3 separate regions of the Homo sapiens genome follow, and regions 2 and 3 are each linked to region 1. The links are contacts of gene promoters, found by promoter capture Hi-C in blood cells and fetal thymus (Javierre and others, 2016). All regions are on one chromosome and are shown on one strand. The core of a region is centred on a gene start or on the middle of the fragment in contact, and the rest is flanking DNA. Distances in the headings are between cores, read along the strand shown. Region 1 holds the start of NUDT13 (nudix hydrolase 13). Region 2 holds the start of DNAJB12 (DnaJ heat shock protein family (Hsp40) member B12). Region 3 overlaps MICU1 (mitochondrial calcium uptake 1).

Region 1 (4,915 bases), core at 861-3,360:
CTCGGGCTCCCAAAGTGCTGGGATTACAGGCATGAGCCACCATGCCCGGCCTACTCTGATCTCATCTCTGATCACCATGCTCTTTCCTAGCCTTTCCTCAAACGGCACACTCCCACCCCAGGGCCTTTGCATATGCTTATTTTGCTCTGTCTACAAATCTCTTTCCATAGATATAAATTTGGTTTCTTCATCACCTTCTTCAGGGTCTTTGTTTAAATATTATCTTAACAATGAGGCTGACCATCCTATATAAAATAGCAAAATAATCCCTCTACTTATCTTGCTTTATTTTTCTTCTTAAGCTTTATAACCACGACACATTGTATATTTACTCGTTTGTTTCCCCTTCTAGAATGTAAGTTACATGAGGACAGAGATTTTCATGTTTTGTTCCCTGCTGTATCCTATCCCTATAACAGTCCTAGGCACATTGGGTACTCATTAAATACATGTTGAATGAGTGGACTTCTTCTCTTGGCTGGGTGCGGTGGCTCACGCCTGTAATCCCAGCACTTTGGAAGGCTGAGGCGAGTGGATCACTTGAGGTCAGAAGTTTAAGACAGCCTGGTCAACATGGCGAAACCCTGGCTTTACTAAAAATACAAAAATTAGCCAGGCATGGTGGTGTGCACCTGTTATCCCAGCTGCTCGGGAGGCTGAAGCAGGAGAATCACTTGACTCCGGAGGAGGAGGTTTCAGTAAGCCAAGATTGTACGTACCACTGCTCTCCAACCTGAGCGACAGAGCAACTCCATCTCAAAAAAAAAAAAAGTGTCTTCTCTCATAGGCAAGTAACTTCAGTAGTAAAACGAGAAGAGAGCAGCACCAAAGTAGCTCTGCTGAGAGGTGAAGCCAGCTGGACTTCCTGGGTGGAGTGGGGACTTGGTGAACTTTTCTGTCTAGTTAGAGAATTGTAAATGCACCAATCAGCACACTGTAAAAATGCACCAATCAGCACTCTGTGTCCAGCTAAAGGATTGTAAACACACCAATCAGCACTCTGTAAAAATGCACCAATCAGCGCTCTGTGTCTAGGTAAAGGATTGTAAACGCACCAATCAGCACTCTGTTTCCAGCTAAAGGATTGTAAACACACCAATCAGCACTCTGTAAAAATGCACCAATCAGTGCTCTGTGTCTAGCTAAAGGATTGTAAACACACCAATCAGCACTCTGTGTCTAGCTAAAGGATTGTAAATGCACCAATCAGCACTGTGTCTAGCTAAAGGATTGTAAACGCACCAATCAGCACTCTGTAAAAACGCACCAATCAGCACTCTGTGTCTAGCTAAAGGATTGTAAATGCACAAATCAGCACTCTGTCAAATGGACCAATCAGCACTCCATAAAATGGACCAATCAGTGCTCTGTAAAATGGACCATTCAGCAGGATGTGGGCAGGGACAAATAAGGGAATAAAAGCTGGCACCCCCAACAGCAGCGGCAACCTACTCGGGTCCCCTTCCACGCTGTGGAAGCTTTGTTCTCTCGCTCTTCACAATAAATCTTGCTGCTGCTCACTCTTTGGGTTCGTGCCACCTTTAAGAGCTATAACACTCACCGAAAGCTCCACGGCTTCATTCTTGAAGTCAGCAAGACCAAGAACCCACTGGAAGGAACCAACTCCGGACACACTTCTAGGAGACTACTTCCAGTCAAATGGAATGCGCTTCCTCTGATCAAGAAATGAATCCTACCATAAGTTCAAACATATCTATACATACCTATACAGAGTCCCATCCTTTTAAATTGGAAGAACTTCATGAAATTTTAGAGCTAGTTCTAAAGTGTGCAGAGAGAGAACTAGAGATATACTAAGGTTAAAAGGTATTTGATTCCCACCCCTGCTTCATCCTCTCCCCAGCCTCATAATATATGCCTTCTGTGTATGAGGGTGGACTTAATGACTTTATCTTTTTTTAATTAAAAAATGGATCTAATACTAACCTACTTTCTCCAAGGATACAGTAGTTCTCTTGGTAATAAGATCTTAGATGTTCATGCTTTTGACAATCATGGTTAACTTGCAGCTGGAGAACACAGCAGCATGCCTGGGAACTGAACTACAATTCCCAGAGTGCATCTCTAGGAGGATTCTGGGAAGTGTGGCAGAAGCAGCAATGGTCCCTCCAGGGAACGGAAGCCGTTGAACGTGAACATTTGGAGTTTCCTCTTTTGTGCTGATTCCTGAGGACTAGGAAGGTGCCCCGAAAAGAATTCAGAGTGAGTACAGTGAAACAGAAACCTGCTCAGCTTCTAAGTGCAGGAAGGACTTCACAGGGAGGCATGATCAGAACTTGAAAAAAGGTCGTGGTCACAGCATTTTAACATTTTAGCTTAATCTCTTCCTTTTTGCAGAAACCAGGGATATAACCATAGTTTTGCCTCATAACTGTGGAGCTACATCAGTAACCACAGCTCATCATTTTCTGATACTTTTTTGGAGAGTCATTTAAAAATGGAACTTGCCAACCTCTCACATTGTGCCTTAATTTTTATTTTTTTTTAAAGGAGGGAAAATTATTTTTTAGAAAGCAAACTATAAAGCAGGTCAGTGAGACCTTCAAAGCTGTATTCCCGTGGTTCCTCAGTTTTCCATATTTCCCTGTCCCATGGAGGTCCACAGTCGTGGAGAAACGGACTCTAAACACAGGCGAAGTATCACTTGGTCGCCCAGGCTGGAGTGCAGTGACACGATCTCCACTCACTGCAAGCTCCGCCTCCTGGGTTCATGCCATTCTCCTGCCTCATACTCCCTAGTAGCTGGGACTACAGGCGCCCGCCACCACGCCCAGCCACTTTTTTTTGTATTTTTAACAGAGACGGGGTTTCACCGTGTTAGCCAGGATGGTCTCGATCTCCTGACCTCGTGATCCGCCCACCTCGGCCTCCCAAAGTGCTGGGATTACAGACGTGAGCCACCGCGCCCGGCCTAAAAAAAGGTCTCTTAAATACTAGGGAACCTGGCCTCTTCACGGTGGAAGTAACCACTAGATTCAAGATGGGCTTTTTTTGTTTTGTCTTGTTTTGTTTTGTTTTTTTGTTTTGAGACGGAGTCTCGCTCTGTCGCCCAGGCTGGAGTGCAGTGGCGCGATCTCGGCTCACTACAAGATGGGCTTTTTTGTCACGCTGTAGTACTTTATAATCTTTCTTCTGGAAAGATGAACAGGATAAGAAACGTGTGAATCATTTGTGTTGGGGAGTTCAAAGAAACTCTTAATGTTAAAGCACCTTGCCTCATCATTTAGTAGTTGGGTAAGACTGCTATTACCTTTCATCTCTATCAAACATTGTACTTTTAAAAACATAAATAGCTCTGTGACCATCAGCTCATGAGTCAGCAGCCATGATAATCTACAACTGGCTAAGGTTAATTTAGTAGCAGAAACTAGGCAAAACATCAGGCAGCAGTTCCCAAGGTCCAAGAAACTCACCAAATGAATTCCCTTTGGCTCATGGAATATGGTGAGGTGTTTTGGGGAACAGTGGCATGGAGGTAGCCTCATTAACCAGTTAGTCTCAGGAACTACTATTTTATTAGGCTTTTCTTTTGTCTTAAAAGGAATAAGTACACATGGCTAATTTTTTTTTCAGTACAGAAAAATGAACAAAATAAAAATTACAGGCACCTTTTTCAATATTTGTCTTCATCCCACTCCCCCAAATTAGTCACTCTTTAATAGTTTGGTATGTATACTTCTAGTCATTTGAAAAATATAAATAAGGCCGGGGGCAGTGGCTCTTGCCTGTAATCCCAGCACTTTGGGAGACCCAGGCAGGCAGATCACCTGAGAACAGGAGTTCGAGACCAGCCTGACCAACATGGAGAAACCCCATCTCTACTAAAAAAAATACAAAATTAGCTAGGCGTGGTGGCGTATGCCTGTAATCCCAACTACTCGAGAGGCTGAGGCAGGAGAATCGCTTGAACCCGGGAGGTGGAGGTTGCGGTGAGCCGAGATTGCGCCATTGCACTCCAGCCCGGGCAACAAGAGCGAAACTCCGTCTCAAAAAAAAATAGAAAGAAAAATATAATTAAATACATATAATTTATGTATATTGGTATGTCTGTGTCCTTTTTTTTATAAATAATTAGGTCATGTTAACCAACTGTTACCTGTTTTTTTCTCCAGCTTTATTAAGGTATAATATTAAGGTATTAAAGTATAATATATACTTTTTGACAAAAAAAGTATATATTTATAGTTTACAATGTGATGTTTTGATACAGGTATACATTGTGAAATGATTAAATCTAGCAAATTAATATATTCATCACCTCACATTTTTTGTGTGTGTTGAGAATATTTAATATCTACTTTCTTAGTAATTTCCAAGTATATAATATATTATGAACTATAGTTACCATACAACACAATAGATATCCAGAATTTATTCATCCTAACTGAAACTTTGTACACTTTGACTAGTATCACCTCCAATTCCTCCTTGCTTTTTTTGTTTACTTAATAATGTGTTCTAAGTCTCTCTCCCTGTTACTATATATATATATTTTTTTCACTGTTATATTATTTTCTATTTGTTCTTTTTCTTTTTTTTAAGACGACGTTTTGCTCTTGTTGCCCAGGCTGGAGTGCAATGGCACGATCTCTGCTCACTGCAACCTCTGCCTCCTAGGTTCAAGCGATTCTCCTGCCTCAGCCTCCCAAGTAGGCAGGATTACAAGCGTGTGCCACCACGCCCAGCTAATTTTGTATTTTTAGTAGAGATGGGGTTTCTCCATGTTGGTGAGGCTGGTCTCGAACTCCTGACCTCGGGTGATCCGCCCGCCTCGGCCTCCCAAAGTGCTGGGATTACAGGCGTGAGCCACCGCACCCAGCCCTTCTATTTGTTCTTAAGTCGCGTATTAATCCATTTTATCATAATTTTCAGTTAACGTTCTTGTACATATCCT
Region 2 (4,915 bases), core at 1,780-4,279, 760 kb before region 1:
CATCTCAGTTCTTCAGCCTGGTTTCTTCCTGGTCACAGGGGCTTCAATTCTGATTCCCCAGCATCCCATCTGATTCTCCTCTGCACCTCTCTCTCACACAGGCCTGGTGCCTCTTTTCCAGGGACCTTAGCCTTATCCATGACTGCCTTGTCCCAGGCCCTCAGAATATCCAACCAGCTCAAGGCAATTCTCTCCTATTGGCTTCCTGCCCTGAAGCTCTCTTCCCTCTCATTAACCTTTCATGCTGTTCTCTTTTAACAACAGTGCCCGTACTTTATTCCTGCTATCAAAAACCTCAATGGTTTCCTCACTAACTACAGAATAAGGTGAAAATATCTTGGCCTGGTAGAAAAGGATTTCTATGATCTGGCCCCATTTTATTTCCCAAACTTAATCCTCTCTGTATACGAATTACCACCTCCACTGCCTCTAAATCTTGCTACACTTTGATCTCTTCCCCCAAACGTTACAACTTTCAGCTCCTTTGTCTTCTTCCAGGATGCCTTTCCTCAAGTCTCACACCGTCCTCCAAAGCACAATTCAAATGTTAACTCCTGTCATCCCCAAAGCATTCCCTCACTGTGAGATAACATTATTTTTATGCACTTGCTACAGCACTCACTAAACTGCTGATAATTTAATGTTCAGGAGATTGTCCTCCGCACCTCCTCCCCACCATCAGACTGTGAACCCATGGATGATGGGGCCTGATTTTTTCATGCCTGTCCTTAAGTCCTCAGCGTCTAACCTTGGGTTTATTTTTTGTTTAATTACAGTTCTGTCTTGTAATATTTGTTTCTGTAAGTTTTGTCTCTTTCACTAGATTATAAGCTCTTTTGAGGTGAGGGATCACATTTTACCAATCTTGCTAGCACCAAGCAGAGGACTTTGCAAACAAAACATAAATGATCTTCAACAAAAGTCTGCTGCATTGAATGAGCATCTGGGATGAGCCTAAACCCAAAGCAATAGACCGCCACCTAATATATCTGTATTACTCCCCCTGGGGAGGCAGGTAGCCAGCCCAGTGGGTAGCCCTGCCCTCTATTTTTGAAGTAAGATCTTTCCCTGTCCCAGACCTAAACTAATCCCAGGTCTTTGTCAGCTCAGTGGAGGGCTGCAGATGGTAAAGTTTACACGGATGCATAAGGCGTATAGTCTCATAGTCTTTCCAGAAAAGCACAAATATGACAAATATGCATGCAGGTGGTTCTTCTGTCTCAGCAAATTCCAGAGCCTGAGCCCCAGAGAGGACACTCCTTCAAGCTCCTGAACTGGTGCAGGGGCCTGCTGACAGAAAGATCCCCAGAGGCCCTGTGGCCCATCCTTTCTTGGCTGCCTGCTCCTGAGCCCGCAGCAGCATCAGTGTCAGGCAGAATTCTGACAGCTGGAGGATACCACCCCACCACAGAATATGAATTAATTCACAGGGAGGCTCCTCGAGCAGGTTACCTCAGGTGTCCTGGCAAATACAGCCCGAAACCCTCTCCAAGGGGAGGCAAACAGGCCAAAGATCAACCTGCAAGAGTCCGGAGGGAGGAAAGTTCAGCAGTCCAGGCTACCTCTTCCACCAGCGTTCCGCTTTCTCAATCTCATCAGGCGGGCAGGGCCGGTTAGGAGGCTGACTGCTGTTCCTCAATTTCATTTCTTTTCCTTCATAAACATTTACAGAGTCACAGAACATTTTACTTTCTAGCTGTGTCATCCTGGGCATCCCTTACCTCAGAGATTTTCCTCACCCATAGAATAAAGATAATGATCTTTGCTCTGCATCCCTGACTGGCAGGCTCAAGTGAGAAGGCACAGGTGAAGGAGCTTCCTAAACTGCAAAGCCCTATGGGTATTATTGCCAATCACATTATCTGCGCCAACCCTCTAATCTTCCCGAGGAGGAAACCCAAGCTCAGGAAGGTCACGTGGTAGCCGTCAGGATGAGACTGGGCCCTTCGGAGTGCCTGTTATTCCCAGACGGTTTACTGAGTGGTGATCACAAGCACCACCCGGTGTCTCTCTCCCCTCTAGCGTGGATTAAGAAAAACTCCTTGGAAAACTTAGGTTAAAGAAAAAAGAAAGGGTTCCCGGGTGAAGCGAGGTGATGAGTTGTAAAGCCAGCTTCACTCTTCCCTCCCTGGCTCAGGAGGCTCCTGTCCAGGGCAACTCAGCAGCCTCGGCGTCCACATGGCTGACCGCCGCTGGACTCTTGCGGGCGATGGAGGACTGGCGGTGGCTGAGGTCAGCACCTCCCACCAGGCCACCCGCTCCGAATCTCATCATCGGGAGGAGTGAGGGGCCCGGCTTCAGGACAGTCCGAGGCGGCGGACTGGGGTGGGTGCAAAGGCCGGCTTGCATTTTGGGAGAGTGGTCCCTGACCCTCAGCCCGAGAGGTGAGAGGGAGTGAAGATACGGAAGCGCCTTTCCCTGGCGCCCGAAGAACAGAAATGTCTCCCTGTCTAGCGCCCATTCTCTCCCTTAAAGGAGTTATGTTTATTTTCCTGAACTGTAATATTTCCCAGGCCGGCGACTGGCCTGGGCTACCGAACGGCCCCTTGGGAAAAGTAGTTCGAGTTCACTTCCAGGTAAGTTCCCTTCGTCCCGGCTGCCAGCGCGTTTCATTCTCGGAGACCTCAAACCCCAGCGGGCTCCGCCAGCACCCCGAAAGCTGAAGTCCCGGCCGCCCGAGTCTCCAGACGGCTCGCATCCCGCAGAGGAACAAGAGGGAAAAACTACGCCTCCCAGCAGCCACCGCGCGCCTCAGTGCGCAGGCGTAGCCGCGCCTCGCCACCCCTCCCCCTCCCCCAACTGCTCCCGTCGGTCCGTTCCCGTGTTCCCCCCATCAGTTCTAATGTCCCCAGTCTCTCCGGCACCTCACACTCACCGCGAACTCGCGGCGTCGGATACAGCCGCTGTGCCTTCTCCAGGAAGCGGAGCGCCCGGTCGGGCTGGTTGCTCTGGATGGCCTTGAGGGCGATGCTGATACAGCGCTCAGCTTCATCCTTGTTGGATTCCATGGCGGAACCAGAACGCGGAACCAGGGAGGGGGAGGCCGGGCGAGCGAAGGGCTGCGCCACCCGCCGGCGCGTCGCGGGCAGCCGGGCGCGGAGTGATGACATCCACCCTCCGCCCCTCCTTTCCCGAGTTTTGAGCGAGGGTGGAAGTGCTACCGTATGTCTTCTAAGAAAGGGACGGCTGGTGTAGGTGTCAATAATGGTGCACGCCCAGATTCCATGTTCCGGAGGTCTTAGAGTTGAGTATGCGCCAACCCTCTAATCTTCCGGAGGAGGAAACCCAAGCTCAGGAAGGTCACGTGGTAGCCGTCGGGATGAGACTGGGGCCTTCGGAGTGCCTGTTATTCCCAGACGGTTTACTAAGTGGTGATCTATATACGTAATGTAACTACATACGTTTCAGACAAAGGTTATTTATTCACTGAACAGATATTGAGTGCCCACTGTTTGTGAGGCATGGTTTTATGATGGGGATACAGGGGTGAGCAAAACAAAGCTCCTGCTCTCATGGAGCTTACATTCCAGTGTGTGTAGGCTGGGGGAGCTCCAGATAGATTCAGATAGTGATAAAAGCTCTGAAGAAAAATTATGGAAAACACAGGGATAGAGAGTGGGAGGCGCTATTTTAAATAGCGCGATAAAAGAAACCTCTCAGAAGCTGTCATTAACAGGTACCAGAATTCAGGAACGATAACAGGTAGATGTGACTGTCTGGAGGAAGGGTGGTCAGGCCGAAGGAACAGCAAGTGCAAAGGCTCTGAAAAGGGAATTCTCTTGGTGAGTTATAACAGATCAGGAAGGCGAATACATTCTAGGGAGCGTAAAGATTCTACTACAGGCTGGGCGCGGTGGCTCACGCCTGTAATCCCAGCACTTTGAGAGGCCGAGGCGGGCGGATCACTTGAGGTCAGGAGTTCGAGACCAGCCTGACCAACATGGAGAAACCCCGTCTCTACTAAAAATACAAAATTAGCCGGGCATGGTGGCACATGGCCTGTAATCCCACCTACTCGGGAGGCTGAGGCGGGAGAATCGCTTGAACCTGGGAGGTGGAGGTTGCGGTGAGCCAAGATCACACCATTGCACTCCAGCCTGGGCAACAAGAGTGAAACGCCATCTAAAAAAAAAGAAGAAAAAAAAAAGATTCTACTACAGAGTGTAATCCAGTTCTATCATTATCCCGTTCTTCGAGGGCTATCACTCCAGTGAAAGCAATCTTGTGAAGGTTGCCAGTGACCTCCACGTTGCCGAATCCCCGAGTCATCTGTCAGCCCTTACATTGCTTGGCCTTTCAGGCAGGATTTGGTAAGATGCTACTACAGTAATCCGGATGAGAGTCAGGAAGCTACTATTATAATACAGGTGAAAATTAATGGTAACTTGGATAAGGGTGATGGCGGAGGTGGTGAGTAGTAGTAAAATTCTGGATATATTTTGAAGACAGAATGACGCAATGGATGTGGGCTGTGAGAGAAAGAAGATTCAAGGATGATTCCAATGTTTTTGGCTTGATAACTGGAAGAAGAGAATTTCTATTTACTAAAACAAGGAAATGGAAAAGACTACAAAAGCAGTTTGGTGGGGGAATATTAAGGGTTTGATTCAGTTTATGATGCTTTTTAGAATCAAGCAGAGATACAGACTAGGATGTTGTACATACGTAGGGTTTAGGCAAAAAGGACCTGGAAATATAACTTTGGGGCCAGGCACAGTGGCTCACTCCTATAATCCCAACATTTTGGGAGGCCAGGGGTGGGAGGATCACTTGAGGCAAGGAGTTTGAGACCAGCCTGGGCAACAGAGTGAGATCCCATCACTACAAAAAAATAAAAAATTAGCTGGGTGTGGTAGTACACGCCTGTAGTCCCAGCTACTCAGGAGGCTGAGGTGGGAGGATCACTTGAGCATGG
Region 3 (4,915 bases), core at 775-3,274, 730 kb before region 1:
GTGATCATGGCTCACTGCAGTCTTGACTTCCCCGCTTCAAGCGATCCTCTCACTTCAGCCTCCTGAGTAGCTGGGACTATAGGCACACATGTGCTACCATGCCTGGCTAATTTTTAAAATTTTTTGTAGAGACATGGTCTTACTATATTGCCCAGGCTGGTCTCAAACTCCTGGGCTCAAACCATCTTCCTGCCTTAGCCTCCTAAAGTGCTGGGATTACAGGTATGAGCCACCACGCCAGGCCAAGGCTAGAGATTTAAATAACTCAAGTTCAACTTAATAACATAAATAATTCAAGTTAATGAACACCTATTATGTGAGAAGTACTATCCAAGGTCCTATGGGGGGTAGGAAGGTGAAAAGGACTTGCAACTACCCTTAAAAAGCTCAGGGAACCATGTTAAGGAATAAAAAAGCCCAGAAGTGATTCTTATGCTGGGACCAAAAGGGAAGCTCCATAGGCTGGAGCTTTTGAGCAGGCTCTTGAATTCCATTAGCCCAGCTTTCTGGAGGATGATGAACAACAAATACTGGCTGTGGGGTAAGAGAGGGTGGTAATATAGTAAATAAAACAGAGGGGGCAGTACAGTTTTAGTTCAAATCCTGGTTTTGCCATCTACTATTATCTTTTTTTTTTTTTTTTTTTTTTTTTTGAGATAGAGTCTCGCTCTGTCGCCCAGGCTGGAGTGTTGTGGCACGATCTCTGCTCCCTGCTGCCTCCCGGGTTCAAGTGATTCTCTTGCCTCAGCCTCTCGAGTAGCTGGGATTTCAGGCACGCACCACTGTGCCTGGCTAATTTTTGTATTTTTAATAGAGACGGGGTTTCACCATGTTGGCCAGGCTGGTCTTGAGCTCCTGACCTCAGGTGATCCGCCTGCCTCAGCCTCCCAAATACTATTATCTTTGTGACCTTAGGAAATCTACTTAACCTCTCTGAGTCTCAGCTTTCTCATCAGTAAAAAGTGGTCAATAACAATACCTAGGTCAGAAGATTAAATGAGCAGATTAACTTTCTGGCTCATAGTAAGCATTGAAAAAGTGTAAGCATCCGTTGTTATTGTTGTTATTAGTATATCAGCTACCATACCTAAAAAATAATGCCAAGGTCAAACCAGAACCAGATCTCTTGAATGGGCTAAATGACAGAGCAGAGTGGCCACAGACACAACAGACCACTGTGTGGAGCTGGAATGCTATGGAGATGGAATGCAACTGGCTGGAATGTGCCCTGGGTGGTGGAGAGATCAGTACTGCCTTCTTTCTAAAGACACTCAGATACCTGAGTGCTCCGTATCCGCTAAGTAGCAAGTTGAGTCTGACATTTTTGTTTCCATTTTTAAGATGCTTATGGTCATAAATTAATTTAGGCCTATAGGCATATTGGAATTATAAGAAGAAGAAATGGAAAACAGAAGCCAGGGCCAGGGGTTCGATTTCTCAGTATCATCATGCCAAGGGCTGAGGTGCTAATGTGAGAAAGGTGGGTAGCTTGAAGAGGATGGGCTGGTACACAGATGCTGTCCGCAAGGCTCCATTATACACAAGGGCCTCTAAGGGCAGCTAGGCTGTTTCCCCTCCGGGCTCCAGAGGGCCCCACTCACCATCACAGTCAAAGAGTGCAAACACCACATCACACACGTGGTCTGAGAGCTCCACTTTAGCCACTGTCCTGGCCACCTGCTGCATGGTCACTGAAAAAAGAAAGAGGTGCATTAGCACAGCAGAGGGATTTTCATTTTGCTTTCTCTGATTCAGGGGATAAAACGACTCAGTCATAATACAAGTTTTCAACTGCATTTAAGTCACATTTAAGAAAATGATAAGTTAGGCTGGCCACAGTGGCTCATGCCTGTAATTCCAGCACTTTGGGAGGCCGAGGAGGGTGGATCACCTGAGGCCAGAACTTCAAGACCAGCCTGGCCAAGATGGTGAAACCCTGTCTCTACTAAAAATACAAAAAATTAGCCGGTGCCTGTAATCCCAGCTACTTGGGAGGCTGAGGCAGAGAATTGCTTGAACCCGAGAGGCGGAGGTTGCAGTGAGCTGAGATCACGCCACTGCTCTCCAGCCTGGGAGAGTGAGACTCCGTTTCAAAAAAAAAAAGAAAAAATGATAATTGAGTTTTTATTCATAAGCTCCCTCCTTTTCACCTCAAGTTCTGTTCTTTTCTACTGCTGCTACAGTTTAGGAGGTATATATAGTTAATTAAGAATGCCTAGGCTGGCCAGGCGCGGTGGCTCATACCTGTAATCCCAGCACTTTGGGATTCCGAGGCAACATGGCGAAACCCTGTCTCTACAAAAAATACAAAAAATTAGCCCGGCATGGTGGTGTGCACCAGCTACTTGGGAGGCTGAGGTGAGAGGATAGCTTGAGCCCAGGAGGCAGAGGTTTCAATGAGCTGAGATGGCGCCACTGTACTGGAGTAACACTCTATGTAACAGAGTGAGACACTGTCTCAAAAAATAAAAAGTGCCTGATATTCAATTTATAGACAGAAAGTAGATTAGAGGTTATTGTGGGCTGAGGGGAATGGGGAGTTACTGCTTTATGTATACAGAATTTCTGTCTGGGGTGATGGAAAAATTTTGAAAATAGTGATGATGGTTGTACAACATTGTGAATGTAATTAATGTAATTCCACTGACTTGTATATTTAAAAATGGTTATAATGGCACATTTTATGCCATATATATTTTTATATTTATATATATATTTATAGAAATATATAAATGGGTGGTGGGAACAAGGAGGCTTGTCTGTGGTGTGAGTACACTAAGGCTTCACGCCTTGGTGGGTGAATGACAGCTAAGTGCCTGCACAGTGAGCCCTCCCTGCCCAACTCTGTCCCTCCTCCCTACTGGTTTTGCACCAGACTTCTTCCAACTGAGCCCATTGGTATATGCACTGGCCCTTGTCTTAACAGTTCAGGATGCGTATCTTTCTTTTTTTTTTTGAGACAGAGTCTTACTCTGTCCGCCAGACTGGAGTGCAGTGGCACGATCTCGGCTCACTGCAACCACTGCCTTCCGGGTTCAAACAATTCTCCTGCTTCAGCCTCCCAAGTAGCTGGGACTACTGGTGCCTGCCATCACGCCTGGCTAATTTTTATATTTTTAGTAGAGATGGGGTTTCACCATGTTGGCCAGGGTGGTCTTGAACTCCTGACCTCAGGTGATCTGCCCACCTCGGCCTCTCAAAGTGCTGGGATTACAGGGGTGAGCCACCACACTCAGCGGGCCCGGCCAATAGTTCAGGATGCATATCTTTCTTTTAAAAAATATATATTTTTAGACCTCAGCAAAAAATCACTTTTCTCTTGCCGTTTTCTCTTTCCCAGACATTCACCGTCAAACACTAGCAATTATGTTAGAATTGGGTTCTCATGAAAGACAAGACAGGAAGGACGAGGCAATTTCCACTGCCTTCTCTCTCATTTATCCTCAAACCTGGTCTAGCTACACCTATAAATCATGTTATTGCTTCTGGACACATTCTTAAGTGAGGTAAAATATGAGGGAAAGAAAAGGATTAATTTCCATTTATGCTGGTAATGAAGAGCTCTCTATAATCATCACATTAGATTCATCCAGAAGCCAAGTGAACTTAAACTAGAACCACTGTGCCTTGTTTATCGCATTCCTATAATTTCAGTTCCTATTATCAGCCCATCTTGTCATTTTTTGCATTTGATCTTTCACTTTGCCTCTATCACCTCCATATATTTACCCGATACGGTTTAGATTTGTGCCCCCACCCAAATCTCATGTCAAATTGTAATTCCCAGGCCAGGCGTGGTGGCTTACACCTGTAATCCCAGCACTTTGGGAGGCCAAGGCTGATGGATCACCTGAGGTCAGGAGTTCGAGACCAGCCTGGCCAACATGGTGAAACCCTGTCTCTACTAAAATAAATACAAAAATTAGCTGGGCGTGGTGGTGCGCACCTATAGTCCAAGCTACTCAGGAGGCTGAGACATGAGAATCACTTGAACCTGGGAGGCGGAGGTTGCAGTGAGCCAAGACTGTGCCACTGCACTCCAGCCTCGGTTACAGAGCGGGACTCTGTCTCACAAAAGCAAAACAAAAACAAAAAAACCCTGAAAATCCAAAAACAAATGGTAATCCCCAGTGTTGGAGGAGGGGCCTGGTAGGAGGTTACTGGATCATGGGGGCAGATTTCCCCCTTGCTGTTCTCATGATAGTAAGCGAGTTCTCATGAGATCTGGTTAAGTGTGTGGCACCTCCCACCTCTCTCTCTTCCTCCTGCTCTGGCCATGTGAGACGTGCCTCCTTCCTCTTCGCCTTTCACCAGGATTGTAAGTTTCCTGAGGCCTCCTCAGCCATGCTTCCTTTACAGCCTGTGGAACTGTGAGCCAATTAAGCCTCTTTTCTTTATAAATTACCCAGTCTCAGGTAGTTCTTTATAGCAATGCAAGAATTAATTAATACATCACCACAGTGCCCCCAACATCAGCAGATGCAAACACTGGAGCAATGCAGAGGAGCAAGGTAATGCGGTAGAAAACAAGGCTTGGAGTAACGGGACCTGGGCTCCAGTTCTGGCCCCACCACCAACGTGCTGTGTGACCCGGATGGAGTCACTTGATCTCTTTAGATTTAATTTTCTCATGTTCAAGTGGAGGGATGCCACCAGACAACTGCTGAGGCGGCTTACTAGCACAAAGAAGGGTTTATTGGTGTCATCTAGAATCTGAGGGTGAGGTTGGGGTGGAAATATCCCATCTTTTCTCCCAGGATCTGAGTTAGGGTGAAGAGGAAATTAACATTCTTTGGTACTAAAAGACTGAAGTATAAGATATTGTGGTGGATATTCATGAGATGTGTGTTGGGAAATCTACAAGACTATAGCGCTCTAGAGTTTAGAAATTTAGCCTCACAAATCTAGATACTTG

What was found. The method cuts DNA at HindIII sites, captures the fragments that hold promoters and counts their contacts. A CHiCAGO score of 5 or more calls a contact.
Region 2: a contact is called between the fragment with the promoter of DNAJB12 here and the fragment with the promoter of NUDT13 in region 1, in 1 of 17 cell types (neutrophils). The highest score is 7.9, in neutrophils.
Region 3: a fragment that was not itself captured here is called in contact with the fragment with the promoter of NUDT13 in region 1 in 1 of 17 cell types (fetal thymus); the score reaches 5.9 in fetal thymus.

The regions. Positions count from the first base shown.
Region 1 is chr10:73,108,345-73,113,259 of GRCh38, forward strand. It overlaps NUDT13 (nudix hydrolase 13), which reads left to right and starts at 2,111. Exons shown (of 9, transcript NM_015901.6): 1 at 2,111-2,223. The HindIII fragment of the contact is 10,450 bases long and covers 1,477-4,915 here.
Region 2 is chr10:72,351,890-72,356,804 of GRCh38, forward strand. It overlaps DNAJB12 (DnaJ heat shock protein family (Hsp40) member B12), which reads right to left and starts at 3,030. Exons shown (of 9, transcript NM_017626.7): 1 at 2,876-3,030. The coding sequence starts at 3,008. RefSeq lists enhancers at 2,487-2,616, 3,007-3,256. The HindIII fragment of the contact is 22,726 bases long and covers 1-4,915 here.
Region 3 is chr10:72,374,182-72,379,096 of GRCh38, forward strand. MICU1 (mitochondrial calcium uptake 1) reads right to left here. Exons shown (of 12, transcript NM_001195518.2): 11 at 1,602-1,691. Among named protein-coding and RNA genes, the nearest start is that of DNAJB12, 22 kb to the left of the region's middle. The HindIII fragment of the contact is 6,523 bases long and covers 1-4,915 here.